3 separate regions of the Homo sapiens genome follow, and regions 1 and 3 are each linked to region 2. The links are contacts of gene promoters, found by promoter capture Hi-C in blood cells and fetal thymus (Javierre and others, 2016). All regions are on one chromosome and are shown on one strand. Each heading gives the region's core, a stretch centred on a gene start or on the middle of the fragment in contact. The rest is flanking DNA. Distances are from core to core; before and after follow the strand shown.

Evidence for each region. The method cuts DNA at HindIII sites, captures the fragments that hold promoters and counts their contacts. A CHiCAGO score of 5 or more calls a contact.
Region 1: the fragment with the promoter of HPF1 here is called in contact with the fragment with the promoter of GALNT7 in region 2 in 3 of 17 cell types (fetal thymus, total B cells and activated CD4 T cells); the score reaches 8.4 in fetal thymus.
Region 3: a fragment that was not itself captured here is called in contact with the fragment with the promoter of GALNT7 in region 2 in 1 of 17 cell types (total B cells); the score reaches 6.2 in total B cells.

Annotation. Positions count from the first base shown.
Region 1 is chr4:169,756,188-169,760,592 of GRCh38, forward strand. It overlaps HPF1 (histone PARylation factor 1), which reads right to left and starts at 1,757. Exons shown (of 8, transcript NM_017867.3): 1 at 1,643-1,757. The coding sequence starts at 1,690. It overlaps LOC107986240 (a long non-coding RNA gene), which reads left to right and starts at 1,876. Exons shown (of 3, transcript XR_001741529.2): 1 at 1,876-2,037. RefSeq lists an enhancer at 1,605-1,674. The HindIII fragment of the contact is 1,294 bases long and covers 1,544-2,837 here.
Region 2 is chr4:173,165,383-173,170,120 of GRCh38, forward strand. It overlaps GALNT7 (polypeptide N-acetylgalactosaminyltransferase 7), which reads left to right and starts at 3,429. Exons shown (of 12, transcript NM_017423.3): 1 at 3,429-3,579. The coding sequence starts at 3,454. GALNT7-DT (GALNT7 divergent transcript) reads right to left here and starts at 4,270. Exons shown (of 7, transcript NR_134242.1): 1 at 3,482-4,270; 2 at 2,580-2,731; 3 at 1,263-1,408; 4 at 742-917. RefSeq lists enhancers at 540-619, 2,698-2,797 and silencers at 3,108-3,157, 3,228-3,347, 3,578-4,738. The HindIII fragment of the contact is 476 bases long and covers 3,026-3,501 here.
Region 3 is chr4:170,024,292-170,029,052 of GRCh38, forward strand. It overlaps MFAP3L (microfibril associated protein 3 like), which reads right to left and starts at 2,104. Exons shown (of 3, transcript NM_021647.8): 1 at 1,943-2,104. RefSeq lists silencers at 1,912-2,001, 2,082-2,481, 2,940-3,009 and enhancers at 2,481-3,200, 3,190-3,329. The HindIII fragment of the contact is 1,339 bases long and covers 1,282-2,620 here.

The sequences.
Region 1 (4,405 bases), core at 507-3,006, 3.4 Mb before region 2:
GTCCTCAACTGTCTCATGCACTAGATACCATTAACCTCATCGTACAGCTGAGGAAACTGAGGTTAACCTCCCTACGTCCCTAACTAGGAAGTGGAAGAGAAGGGATTTAAACTCAGGTTTAAATCTGGGTCCACAGCAGATCCTCAACCACTTCACTATGCTGCTTCTCCAACATCAAATATAGAACAGTAGGAACATATGAAGTCCTGAGCTATCCTATCTTCTGTTTTCATAACTGTCTTTGTTCAGACGTTCAAAGACTGGCTCCAACTTAAGATGTTAGAAAAGGCTTAATCTGCCTTGCTGAAAGGCAGTTTTGCATAATAGTTAGGTTGCCTGGGTTGACTCCTGACTCTACTGATTTCCAACCTTAGGCAAGTTACTTAACCTCTCTGTGCTTTGTTTTCTCATCTGCAAAAAGGGCATACAGTGCCTATATCGGGGTTGTTACAAGGAATGTTATTATATGTAAAAATACACAGAACGGTCCTAGCACATAATATACAAATGCTGGCCATTACGGTTATAGTCTCTACAGACTCATCTTCATTTCTGTTATTGTATTTCTAGTTAAGCACATCACTCCACCAAAGCAGTTCTTCACTGCACCTTCAAAAAGAGAATTTTTTCAGCTGTGCCTTTACTCACACACTAGTTCAGCATCTCCATAGCCCTAACAACTAGGATTTAGAACAGCTGTCCCCTTCAGAGGCTACACTTCTTCTTTACCCTGGTCTTCCTAGAATGCATGACCCAATATGAAGGATGCCTATACCGATGGCCCTTTAACAGTTAGTTAAGCCCTCTAAGAATGTCTCACCCTGTCCGATTTATGACACTACCAGAGTAACTTTTCTAAAACTTTAGTTATCACAATGGCACTTCTTTCCTGATTCCCCTTATTGCTACTGTAGTGGTTACAGAACTTCCGAAATCGTAGTAAAGTATGAGAATGCACACACTCTCTCCTCCTCCCCTCTCAGTAGTGCTTTTATGATCAGGTCCCTCTTATTTTCCCATTTCCCTGGCTCCAGCCAAGCCGAACGCTCCGCTACGCCCAAACATCTCCTACAGTTTTATGTCTCAGAATCTTACTTCTCTGCCTTCAAAACCAATTTTCAAAGAGTTGTCTTAAAAGTCTTCTTTAACACCCCCTGGGACTTGTTAAATCCTCCTTCAGTGTTTCCATAGCACTTTCTACACACCAGCGTTATAATCCCAAACAAAAAAGTCACAGTAGAATGCATATTTGCTTGTGCCCCTCCTCCCCAGGCCGAGGGCTCAACAAGCAGCAGGAGCAAGCAGGTTGACCCCCAAATCCGCAGCGCCCCACAGAATGTCAGGTATGTAATCGGTTCCCAATCAATCTGGCTGGGCGAATGAACCATTGGTTGGCTTAATCCGTTTCCCCAGGAAATGCTCCAAGAGGAGCTGGGCAGAAGATGCAGAGGAGCTACTTTCCTGGTCCAACCCCCTGCAGAGCGCGAAACAGCGGCCCTGGGCAGGATCCCCGCAGCAAACCGCAGCCCCTGGACACACAGCAAGCTTAATAGTCACTGGATGAATGAAAAGCGCTGCCTCCTGGTGCCCTGGCTGTCACCCAAAGCGCCCCGCGTAGCCCGCACAGCCTTTCCGGCAGTACCTGCGGCCCCTCTCCGCCGGGCCTGCGCTTCCCGCCACCGCCGACCATTCTGCAGCTGCAGCGCCAGCAGAATTCCCCGATCCGCGGCCGCTTCCGAGCGCCGCCAACCGCTTCCGGGTTCAAAAGCCTCCAAGCCGAATTTCAGCGCCGCCCGGGCTCGCCAATTTAGGGGAAAGGCTCCGCCCATTCCCCGCCCCCTGAGACCTGGCACCGGACGCGTTGAGGCCCCGCCCACTCCCGTGCTGGGCGCGTGCAAGGAGCGTCTTCTGTCAGCGTAGTCTGCATCTAGGCTTTCTGGAGCATCTTCCAGGGTCGCTCCAGAGACCCCCCAGACTACTGAATCTGAATCCTTAGAGTGGTCCAACCTTCCTCTTCAGGTGTCTACTAGAGGCAAGGTTGGATGTATGCGGCTGTTCTCAATACAGCCCCTTCCTTGTTTTTTCTTCATTTATATTTACTTAAAATATTAATCCTTTTCTCCTTCTCCTCCATCCCTCTCCCTACCCTACTGTACGGTTATTGGCTTACACTAATTCATTCCCGATTGTCTCCAAGAAGGAAATAAATGTCTGTCGGTCTCTGTCTCTGTACCGTCGTCTTCTTGGTACAATTTGGACTGTTTTTCCTCTACACCGCTGATATGCAAAGTGTAGTCCCTGAACCAGCGGCCTCAGCATCCTGAGGGAATTTGTTAAAACGCCAAATCTCAGGCCTTACCCAGACTTACTGAATCAATATCTGCATCGCAACAAGATCCCCTGGTAATTCCTATGCACATAAAATTTGGAAGGCACAACTCTCAACTGATGTCCTTGGACCTCCTTCACATCCATCCTGGGAAGGTCTTATTCCTCATTCCTGAGATGAGTTCTCTATTTCCTCAATCTGGGTGTTCCTTTTTCTTGATTATATACCCTCATGTTGTGGAACATATCCGCCAATAGTTCCTTGAGAGAGGTTGCTGCCAGGTCTTTTTTCCCACAGAGTGTGCATGTCTGGAAATGTTTTTATTCTGGCTGAGCACAGTTCTAGGTTGAAAATAACTTTCACTCGGAATATTGGAGGGCTTGCTCCGCAATATTTTAGCTTCCAGAATTGTTAAGAAACTATGTCGTTATATTTCCTTCTCCTTCACAGGTCACTAAATTTCTTGATATGTAACCTGCTTTCCTTTCTGTTTTGTTTTGTCTCAAGAAGCTTTAGGATCTTTTCTCTGTTTCCAGTGTTTTTTGTTTTGTTTTGTTTTGTTTTGTTTTTTTTGAGACGGAGTCTCGCTCTGTTGCCCAGGCTGGAGTGCAGTGGTGCCACCTCAGCTCACTGCAAGCTCCACCTCCCGGGTTCACACCGTTCTCCTACCTCAGCCTCCGGAGTAGCTGGGACTACAGGCGCCCGCCACCACGCCCAGCTAATTTTTTTTTTTTTTGTATTTTTAGTAGAGACGGGGTTTCACCGTGTTAGCCAGGATGGTCTCGATCTCCTGACCTCGTGATCCGCCCTCCTCGGCCTCCCAAAGTGCTGGGATGACGGGTGTGAGCCACCGCGTCCGGCCTATTCCCAGTGTTCTAAAACACTATTGAGTGTCTTGGTTATGGGTCTTTTCTCATTCCTATCGACCAGTTTTTCAATCCTGAAACACATGTTCTTCAGTTATGGGAATTCTTCTGGTATTATTTATTTGATCATTTCTTCCCCCCCACCCCCCATCGTATCTCTTCTTTTTTGAAATTTGTTATTTAGATCGTGGACCTTCTTGGCTGATGTTTTTTCTTACCTGTCTGTCCTATTTTCTATGTCTTCATATTTTTATTCTACTTTCTCTGTGACTTTCTCAACTTAATTGGACAATTACTTAATTTCTTTATTATACTTAATAAAGATTAATTACTTAATTTCTGTATTATACCTTTATTTCTCAGTGCTCTTTTTATTCTCTGTTCTTTTATAGCATTACATTATTTTTCATGAATATAGCTCCTTTTATCTCTGAAGATGTCAATTATAGCGTTTTTAAAAATGCTTTCTACGTAACTCTGCATTGACTTTGATTCTTTTGAGTCTTTTTTGGTTGTTTGTTTGTTTACATTTGGTTCCTGTTGTTTCTGCTAGAGGCATTCTTCATCTTGTGTGGTGATCCTTGCTGTCAATTTATATGTAAAAATGAGGCTCTAAAAAGGTGCTTTGGGGACATAGGCAAGGCTTGTTTACTGCTGGACAAGGTGTAAGATGATGGGGAAAGAACCAGCTGTTTATTTTCTTCTAGAGAGTAATCTTCTAATTACTCACTTTGAGAATATACAGACTTCTTGGAGCCCAATGCAGGAAGGAGGCTGGGAGTCTTAATAATTTCATTATATGCACTGTATTAGTCGGGGTTCTCCAGAGAAACAGAACAAATAGGTATCTATTTATCTATATCTATACCTACATCTGTATCTAGCTATCTATTAGCTCACGTGATTATAGGGGTTGAGAAGCTGCATAATCTGCTGTCTGCAAGCTGAAGATCCAGAAAGCCCATATTGTAGTTTGAAGCCCTGATAACTGGGGAGCCAATGGTGTAGATTCCAGTTCGAGTTTGAAGTCTTGCAAACCAGGATCACCAAGGGCAGGAAAAGATCAAAGATTCAGTTCAAGAATCTAGCAGAGAGAGAGTGAATCCTCCCTTCCTCTACCTTTTTGTTTTATTCAGACCCGAATGGATAAGATGATGCCCACCCACATTGGTGAGGATAATCTCTTTTACTTAGTGCCCCCGCAGACACT
Region 2 (4,738 bases), core at 2,179-4,678:
CTGCCTCCCAGCAAATACTGCAATGGGCATATGTTTTAAGGTATATTTGCACTTTTTTTAAACTTTTAAGTTCAGGGGTACATGTGCAGGTTTGGTACATAGGTAAACTTGTGTTATGGGGGTTTGTACAGATTATTTCATCACCCAGGTATTAAGCCTAGTACCCACATTAGTTATTTTTCCTGATCCTCTCCCTCCTCCCACCCTCCACCCTCCAATAGGCCCCAGTGTGTGTTGTTCCCCTCTATGTGTCCATGTGTTCTCATCATTTAGCTCCCACTTATAAGTGAGAACATGCAATATTTCGTTTTCTGTTCCTGTGTTAGTTTACTTGCAGTTTCTTTTAAAAGTTATTAAGACTCAGAGAAACATAAACTTTTACAACTATATACCTATTCATCAATATACAACTGTATAACTATATACTCTTTCACACATATTTTAAGTTCTCTGTGTAAAACTAAAGTTGGGGGGTGGTAGTGGTGGCAGGATGTTCTCAGAATACTAGGGCCTTCAAAGGACCATCCTCAATACTTTGATGATAGGTATCACTTTCCATTTGCATACTTGCCCAGCTATGCTCATAACAGTAAAAATAAAGCTTCCTACCTTCTTAAGAATAAAAAACTGTCTCCCCTGTGAAAATAACACAAGTGAAAGACTTAATTATTCAGGTGGACTTCAGCTGCTGATTTCAAATGGAATTATTCTCTTATGATCACAGGATGCCTTGTAAGTTACCTGTTTCAAGCCCAGTCTCTGCCTAGGGAACTGTCTCCTATGAAAAGGAGTCCGGGTGGACCATGGTGGCTCATGCCTGTAATACCAGCATCTTGGGAGGCCAAAAAGGGAGGATCGCTGGAGGCCAGGAGTTTGAGACCAGCCTTGACAACAGGACCAGATAATAGACCCCGTCTCTACAAAAAATAAAAAAAAAATTAGCTGGGCATGATGACTCACACATGTGGTCCTAGCTACTCGGGAGGTTGAGGTGGGAAGATCACTTGAGCCCAGGAGTTCCAGGCTGCAGTGAGCTATGGATGTGCCACTGCACTCCAGCCTGGGTGACAGAGCAAGACCTCAACTCAAAAAAAAAATAAATAAAAAAGAAAAGGAGTCCACCTCACTTCTGAACAGTTCAAGTTGAGTCCATAAATGAGCCTATTTCTGTCTTCCAAAGATATCCATATAAGACTTTTCCCAACCACCCCCCGCAACCTTGCTTCCTTTCAGTGTTTCTCCAAAGGTGGTGCCCAGATTACCTGGATCAAAATCACCAGGGTACTGATTAACAGGAGATTCCTGGGTCCCAACGCTGACCTGAATCATCACCAAGAAATGGTGCATTCGCTTTTCATATCACATTACCCAGCAGATTCATACTTCGTGAATTACACACTCTAGATCTCTGTCACACAAAAAAAATGGTCTTAGGCAAAATCTCTCATCTTCTACTTAAAACAACTGGTTTTAACCTAAGGGGCTGATATAAATGCTAAGTCAAGCAGTGATTTGTGTTTAACACTTGACAGTCCCTCTTCCAGGTACTCTATATAGTGGACTTTTATACAATATGATGTACAGTCCTTCAGCCAACCAATAATACACCTAACTACAATCCATTCTACATTTCCGGAACCATGCTGTTCATGAGGATATCACTTCAGATATTTTGTGGAAATTTTGAAATTATGGCATCTACAGAACTCCCTGATATACTAGCTATTGTAAGCCAAGCCAAAAAGCACATGAAGGTAGTTTGGTATAATTCTTTATCTATCTTGATAATTGAAATTGTTTCACTGTAAAACTTTACATAACTGAGCTTTGTTTTAAAGCAAAAAACTTGCAGATGTGAGACAGTACGAGAAAAAAGAATCAGCTGTTACCATCTTAAAACTTAGGATAGCCTAGGTGTGGTGGCTCACAGCTGTAATCCTAGCACTTTGGGAGTACGAGGCAGATTGCCTGAGCTCAGGAGTTCGAGACCAGCCTGGGCAACACCGTGAAACCTCGTCTCTACTAAAATACAAAAAAAAAAAAAATTAGCTGGGCGTGGCGGTGTGCACTTGTAGTCCCAGCTACGGGGGAGGCTGAGGCAGGAGAATTGCTTGAACCCGAGAGGTGGAGGTTGAGGTGAGCCAAGATCGCACCACTGCACTCTACTCCAGCCTGGGTGACAGAGTGAGAGACTCCGTCTCAAAAAAAAAAAAAAAAAAAAAAAAAAAAAAAAAAAAAAAAGAAAAGAAAAAAAACCCCAAAAAACTTAGGATAAAATCTTAAAACGTTTTGTTCGACTTAAATTTAAATTAGCAGTTTAGGATATAGTACACTGATAATGTAATTACATACATTCTGCTATAAAGGCATAGACATCTTTATTGGGAGATATGGGCAGAAAAATTATTTCCTCAGGGTGGGGCATTTGGCTAAACACTTGCCAATATCCTTTACTGTGTAATTTAGGTAACACAGGCAGAAAAGGCGTTTGAAAAGCAGAAATCAAGTGGCAAATATCAGATCTGAGGGACGCAATGAGGGTGGAGTTGAAATCCGTGGTCCTTGGATTTGAAACTTACCAGCCCGTGAACAAGGTTGGTATTGCTTTTGGCATAAGACGACAGCCTTTCTTTTCATTAGCTCAGGAGGAATACTGGCTTTCCAAGTGAGCTCCTCCAATCCAGTGATATTTGCACATCTCACCTGGGCCTTTCGGTTACAAATTCACCACCTTAAGGAGCCGTGTGAAAAAGCAAGAACAATCAATAAGAAGGAAAAAAAAAAACCCTTCAGCTATAAATCAGCCACGTGGAGCTGCTGCAGCAGCAGCGGTAGTCCCACTTCCTGGTTGGCTTCCTGAAAGCCTCTCGACAAGGGGCTCAGGGAAGTGGGTCTAAGGGAGAGGTGCAGACGAGAGCGACTCCAGGTCCAACGGAGGGGGCGGCGGGCCACGGGATCCCGGAGGGCACAGGCGTTAAGGACGGAGTTATTGTCCATAATTACAATAAAAGTTTGGGGATCTGAAAGCTTTAAGGAGCTGAGCTGCAGGGCAAAGGCTAAGAACCGGACTCGGGAAAAGTGCAAGTTAGTTACAAGGTAGCAGGGACTGTGAAGGGGGCTCGCGTGGAGAGCAGGGGACTGCGGATCTGGAAGGGGGCAGGTAGAGAGGAAGGCAGCCTGGCAGAGCGAGGCACACGGGTCAGTCGGAGCTCTGCGGTGGCCGCCAGAGGGGAGGGGGCCACGGGGAGGAGCGGAGGGAAGAGCCCGGGGAAAGGTGTAGCCGAGGGGAGTTCCGGATCTGGAGCTGGAAAGGGCAGGCAGCGGAGAGGGCGGCAGCCGTAGCGGTAGGGGTGGGGGAAAGAGGGGGAGGAGAGCCGGAGGAGGGGGAAGGAGGGAGGGGAGAGCGGTGGCGGCGGCTGCGCCGGGCTGTGAGTCTCTCGCCGCCGGAGGAAGATGAGGCTGAAGATTGGGTTCATCTTACGCAGTTTGCTGGTGGTGGGAAGCTTCCTGGGGCTAGTGGTCCTCTGGTCTTCCCTGACCCCGCGGCCGGACGACCCAAGCCCGCTGAGCAGGATGAGGGTGAGTGACCCGCCCGGCCCCCTCCGGCGGCAGCGACCGGCAACTTGTTTTGTTTGCCCGCGTGTGGAGGGAGCAGGGGCGGCGGGGTCGCGGCACGGCGTGGGCACCGCAGCTCCGCAGGTGGTGCTGGCGCAGCGCGGGCCGAGGGGGTGCCGAGCCCCGCGCACTCCGACCTCCCTGGCCGCCGCCGGCCCGCCCCCTCGCCGCCCCTTCCTCCGCTCTTCCCCGCCCCGGGCTCCGTCGCCGACACCCGCGCTGCCGCGGCAGCGGCTCGGGCGGCCGCTCTCCGCGCCGGGACTGCGGGCGGAGCGGGCGGAGAGCCGGGTCCGGGGGGCTGCGGCCGCCCGGCGTCCCGCTCTGGGGGGCCGGGACCGCAGCGCTCACGGCCCGGGGACGCGGGGTTGGTCCAGGCTGCGGCCTGTGGCGCGTGCAGGCCTGAAGGAGGCGAGATGCCGATGCCGCCACCGCTGGTCCGGTGGACCAGGCCCCTTGGTCCAGCCTCCCCTCCCGCAGCCGCCCGTCTGGGGGTGTTCGCAGCCCCGGGCTCCCCCGGCCCGCCCGCCGGGGAGTGGGAGGGCGATGGCGCCCCGCCTCCGGCTCTTACGGAGAGCGCGCCTCCCCCTCAACTCCGGCGGCGGGGAGCCGGGGTGCGATGCGCGGCCGAGGCCTCGCCCGGACCGCCGGTCCCCCTCGCGTCCCTGGGCGAGGGAGGGGCGGTTGGCCGGAGATGGCGGAGGGGCGTCCCCGCCCCGCCTGCCCGCCGCCCCCAGCCCTCAGCGCCTGGGGAAGCCCCTGCTGTGGCAGTGCTCGGGCGCTATCCGGGGGAAGAGGAGCAGTTCCTCTTCCTTGGCTGCGGCAGGGCTGCTTGGGCCGGAAAACTAACTTGTGTCGGCGCCCGGCCGCCCCGCGCCGGCTGCCGGCTAGCTCAGGCCGACGCCGAGGGGAGCGGCGGCGCGGAGCTCGCGGCGGCTCCGCTGGGACGCATTTGTCTGCCGCCCAGGGCGCGAGTGTTAGCGCTGACATTCCTTGGATTTGGAGGGTTTAGTCAGGCGCCTCGGAACATTAGTTACCCGGAGCCGCGCCGCGCGGGGAAGGGACCGCGGGCACTGCGGCTTCCCTGACCCGGCAGCGGGCGGCGCGCACCGGCCTCGCCCCCGAC
Region 3 (4,761 bases), core at 701-3,200, 3.1 Mb before region 2:
CTTAGGATTTGTGGATCGAGAAGGGGGCCTATTGATCTGTATTAAACCTCACATTCACAAAAAGTAAACTGAGGCCTTGCTGCTTCCTCCAGGTCAGGAAGAACCCAAGGCTAAGGGGAGACTCTAGCTACTTCTACTGGGGAATGTCACCTGAGGATATGAGACCTGCTGTTCAGGATAAGGTGTACATGCAGGCAGTACTTCATGAAAGATTTTAAACTTGATGCATTTTTATAGAAAAGAGAAGCACAATTATTCAATATTTGTGTTGGAGTTTTCAAACTTATTTTTCTATAAATGTATTTAGAAATAAATTTAGGATGAGTGAACATCACCAACCAGACTATTTGGCTAAAATGGGGGACTGCAGGTTCTAATTCATAAAAATGGTAATCATGTTGTTGCTACTGCTGTTGTCTGGATGTTTCAAGCCTTTCCTATTATTAAACCTCGGTTATGCAGCATCACAGGACAGAGCCAACTCTATACTGGGGGAAATCACCCCAGAGAGTATCCAGAATTAGAGCTGGAGCCATCTCAGGCTTGCAAGCAAGCACCAACCTTAAAGCCTACCCACAACTCAATGAAAAGTCAATGCATTTCTAAAGTCTATTAAGGTCTATAAAGAATGTAAACAATTGTTTTGTAATAAGCTTAATGAATAAAACAACTGAACCCACTAAGTGGTACTTATAGAAAAGAGGCTTGAGAATTTAGCTTTAGTTAGCAGAACTAGTTCCCACTAGAACAGGATTGTTTATCTTGCCCCTATTAGATACAATAATCCTAATAGTGTTAATGGTACTAAATGTTTTAGGAATAAACAACTGTAGAAACCACACTGGGACCTACAAATTGCACTTTCTGTGTAAGTAAAATGTCAGAAGAACTACACTGTTATAACTTACGGTCTCATGAAACGACATTTTTTTCCATCTTGTATTTCATCTTGAAGGATTTTACTATGTTCAGCATAGTAGCAACTGAAAAAAATGTGTTTCATCTAGAAACAAAAGTGAGAAAACTACAAAAAACACTGAGCTTCTGCAATGCTCGGTTTCCAAGTTTTTAACATTAAATCGAAGATAACGCAAAATAAAGATTGCCACAGTAACCAAACTTTTCTGCTAAGTATCCTTAAAAATAATGACAGTTCGATCGTATCTTAACTGTTTTCTACAATGTGAGCAGATAATACACCTACAAACCTTTTTTTGCTACCTTGCTTTATAAAGCTTGCAAGTTTTTTTTTCAGGGCTGGAGAAGACAGCTTAATGATCAAGCTTAAAATAAATCGGTTCTGCAATCACTCTGTATTTTAATCCGATGAAGCACGTTTCCCCATTCCACGCCATGAAGCAATTCGATGTCAACTTGTTATGGAGTCAAATGCGACAAACTCCGAGAGCTTCAGTAGCGAGGCGGCGGCTCGCAGCACCCACAGCCGCCCGCACTCCTGCGGCATCAGGACACGGCGCCCTCCCGACGCGGAACCCGCATTCACGTTCTCCGGAGCCCTGGCCAGCGCACGCTCCTCCCTGTCCGGGTAAACTGAGGCACAGCGATGAGAGAGATCCAGAGCCCAGCGAAAGCCCCCACGGCTGTTCGGCGTCCCCTTCCCCCACGACACCTAGGAGGCTCGCCGGCAGCTGGCAGTGGATTCCGCGCTCCTCGCCCTCGGAAGGTTACGGTTCGAGCCCAGGATGCGGCAGTCCCCAAACGGCCAGCCCCCGCCCCGCACGGATCTCGAAGCATCCTGCGACCCCCTGGAGCCCGCTGCCCGGACCCTGCGGCGTCTCGCAGCGCAGCCTCCGCCGCAGTCTCAGCCAGCCCAAACACCCGAAAGTTCGGCGGCCCCGGCGCCGACTCGGCCGCCGACCCGGTGCGGGGCTGGCTCCCACCCGTGCCCCTCCGCCCCGGCCCGCCGGGGGCCCCCGCTAACCTGACACCGCCGCGCCACTCAGGTGGCCGCCGTGCACCCCTCGCCATGGCCAGCCCGACAGCGGCCGCTGCGCCGCACTCTGCGCCGGACGCCCGGTAGCGCCTACTGCGGGCGAGCCGCCTCCGCCGGCGCCTCACAGCGTTGCGAGCTGCGCCGCCGGCTGCCGGGAGCGCGGAGCTTCCCACCTACAGGAGCCTGGGCCGGCCGGGGCCGAGCATGCCCAGTGCGGCTCGCCGGGCGGCGCGGAGGCGCGGGTGTAGCCGCCGGGTTTTCGCGGCAGCCGCGGGCGGGGGCAGCGGGGCGGGCGGTGCGGCGCGAGCCAGTCGGTGCTGCGGAGCGGCCCCGCGGAGGAGCCACCGGAGGCTGTAGTTGCCGGGGAGTCCCGCATTCAGTCCGCTCAGCCTCTGGGCCGGGCCTCGGCGGCCCCCAGAGCCCCACACCCGCAGGCCCAGGGCCTCCGCGGCAGCGCGGGACTCTCACTCCGCTCTCTCTCCCGCCCGGGGCTTCCACCGCAACTTCTGTGGGCGTCGCATCGCACGCGTGTTCAAGGACACCCAGGAAAAGGCTTCTTAGGGTCCCATCCTGGGGCGCTAAATGGGAACCAGTCAACCCACCCCCAAGCCTACCCTGTCTCCTTGCAATCAAATGCAATCACGAGCAAACCACCTTGCTTCCGAAAGCTTCTCAGGCCTTCCCGGGCGACTGCGCTGTAAGTCTTAAACGTCTCTTAAAGCAAAGTCCACAGATGGAAGAGTCTGGAAAAAAACCCAGCGGGCCGTTCCCTGGTGACTTTCTGAGTGGTGGGGTTCCAGGAATTTTTTTTTCATTTTCTTTAAAAATATTATTTGTAATTTCCACGTTTTTTCTAATGAACCATAAGTTGATTTTTTAATTAAAAAGTAGAGTACTCTAAAATTATTAAGTACCTACAGAAGTTTCGCTACACGATCCTGCAATGTTAGTGGCTTCTTCTCCTCCTTATCTCCCTTTTTTTTTTTTTTTTTTTAATTTTAAAAGAGAACAGAGACTCTCAATTTCTGGGGCGGGACCAGGCTCCTTCCCCCGGCTTTTTAGTGCCCGCCCTCTTGGCCACACCCCACTCCGGCCTTTTTACTCCCGTACCGCCCTCTTCCCGGTGGGTTGCTGCGAAAACCCGGAAAGGTGGACTTTCCACATTGACGCTCCCGGCGGCTCCGGCAGCCAGACTGGGCATGTTCCGCCGCCGGGTCAGGCATTGCTGTGCCAAGAGAGGAGCTTTAGCAACTCTCAGTCTCTCTGCTCCTCTCTGTTCCTGGCAAACTGGCAAAGTAGTGCCTCTGACCCCACGCCCCGAGGTCGGACCTGCAGAAGTGGGTCAGGACCCGACTGAGCATGCTCCGGGCAGTGCCAGGCTGCCGCACGCGGCTGCATCTGGTTGCCCAAGGTTGATGTAGCCGCGGTCTCTCGTCACGACATCGAAGCTCGGGAAACGGATGGAAGCAGGGCTCTAGAGAGGCACGATTGCATCGACACGTGGGCAGGTCGCCCATGCCAAGGGCCATGTTGGTGGGTGGGTGCGTGGGATCTGTCGTATGAGTGAGTCAAAGCCTGATTTTTTCCCCCAAAAAGATTGAAATGAGATATCATATTTTAACATTAGTTTTATGGCATCTTGAATAGCAACACATTTTAGCTCAAGGAATTTTTCAGCTGTCCTTTTGAGAAACGTAAATTTTCTTTGTTTTTAAGTATTTAATAAGCATTCTTTACAATTGCACCACAGCGCGAACTTTCCACCTGCTTTATTAATTATGACATTTGTGTCCCCACTATTAAAATATTCCGCAGTATTATATCCCGTTTTCTTCTCCAGCATTTCTGCATTCACTCTGACTCTATTTCCTCCCCTCCCCCATCTCTTTTAAATTCTCAGACAACCTGCAAAATGCACTCTTGCTATCTTAGAAACCACTTGAGGTCGGTGTGGGGAACTTGCTTTTAATTCTCATTTAGAGAAGACAGTACTGAAATGGAGAAAAGTCACAGGGAAAGTACTTTTACAGATTGTAGATTAGTAAAGAACCCAAAGAGAGCCTTTCATTGAGAGCAGAAAGGCGAATGGAATTCGCTGTTTTCTGTCTAAGGAGGAGGAGGATGGGCAGGCAGGTCAGCTGCCCAGTGGGGCTTGGTGTGATAGTGGGAGTCACCCTTCATTTGAACCTCTCTGCCTTGCCCAGCTCCAGTTCAGCTTCAGCGTGGTCAGAGACACTATCTCTATGGAAGGTCACTCCTGGAAGAATACATTTACTTAGCTGCTTCCACCATGGAATCCTAGCTTGTGCTGGAGTGTCCCCTTCATCCTCCTCCTGTGCTTTGAGAATCCATTGTTGCTGGTATGCCCTGAGCAGTGCCCTTGAACTTGCCCAGGTACCCCTTGACATCCACACCACAAATAGTCTAGCCTTACAAAGGTGGACAAGATGTCTTTTCAACAGTCTGTACTGCCACTTCCATCCATCTGAAGCTTTCTGTTCCTGAGTCTGTCATGACATTAATCTTTCAAAAATCTTTCACAGAGATTTTTAGTCTCTACTAAAAATACAAAACAATTAGCCAGGCATAGTGGTGTGTGCCTGTAGTCCCAGCTACTTGGGAGGCTGAGGCAAGAGAAGCGCTTGAATCTGGGAGGCAGACGTTGTAGTGAGCAGAGATTGCGCCACTGCACTTCAGCCTGAGCAACAGAGTCAGACTCCATCTCAAAAATAATAAATATATATATATACACACACACACACACAAATAGTATGGATAAAGGGAAGACGCTGACCTATCAGAACAAC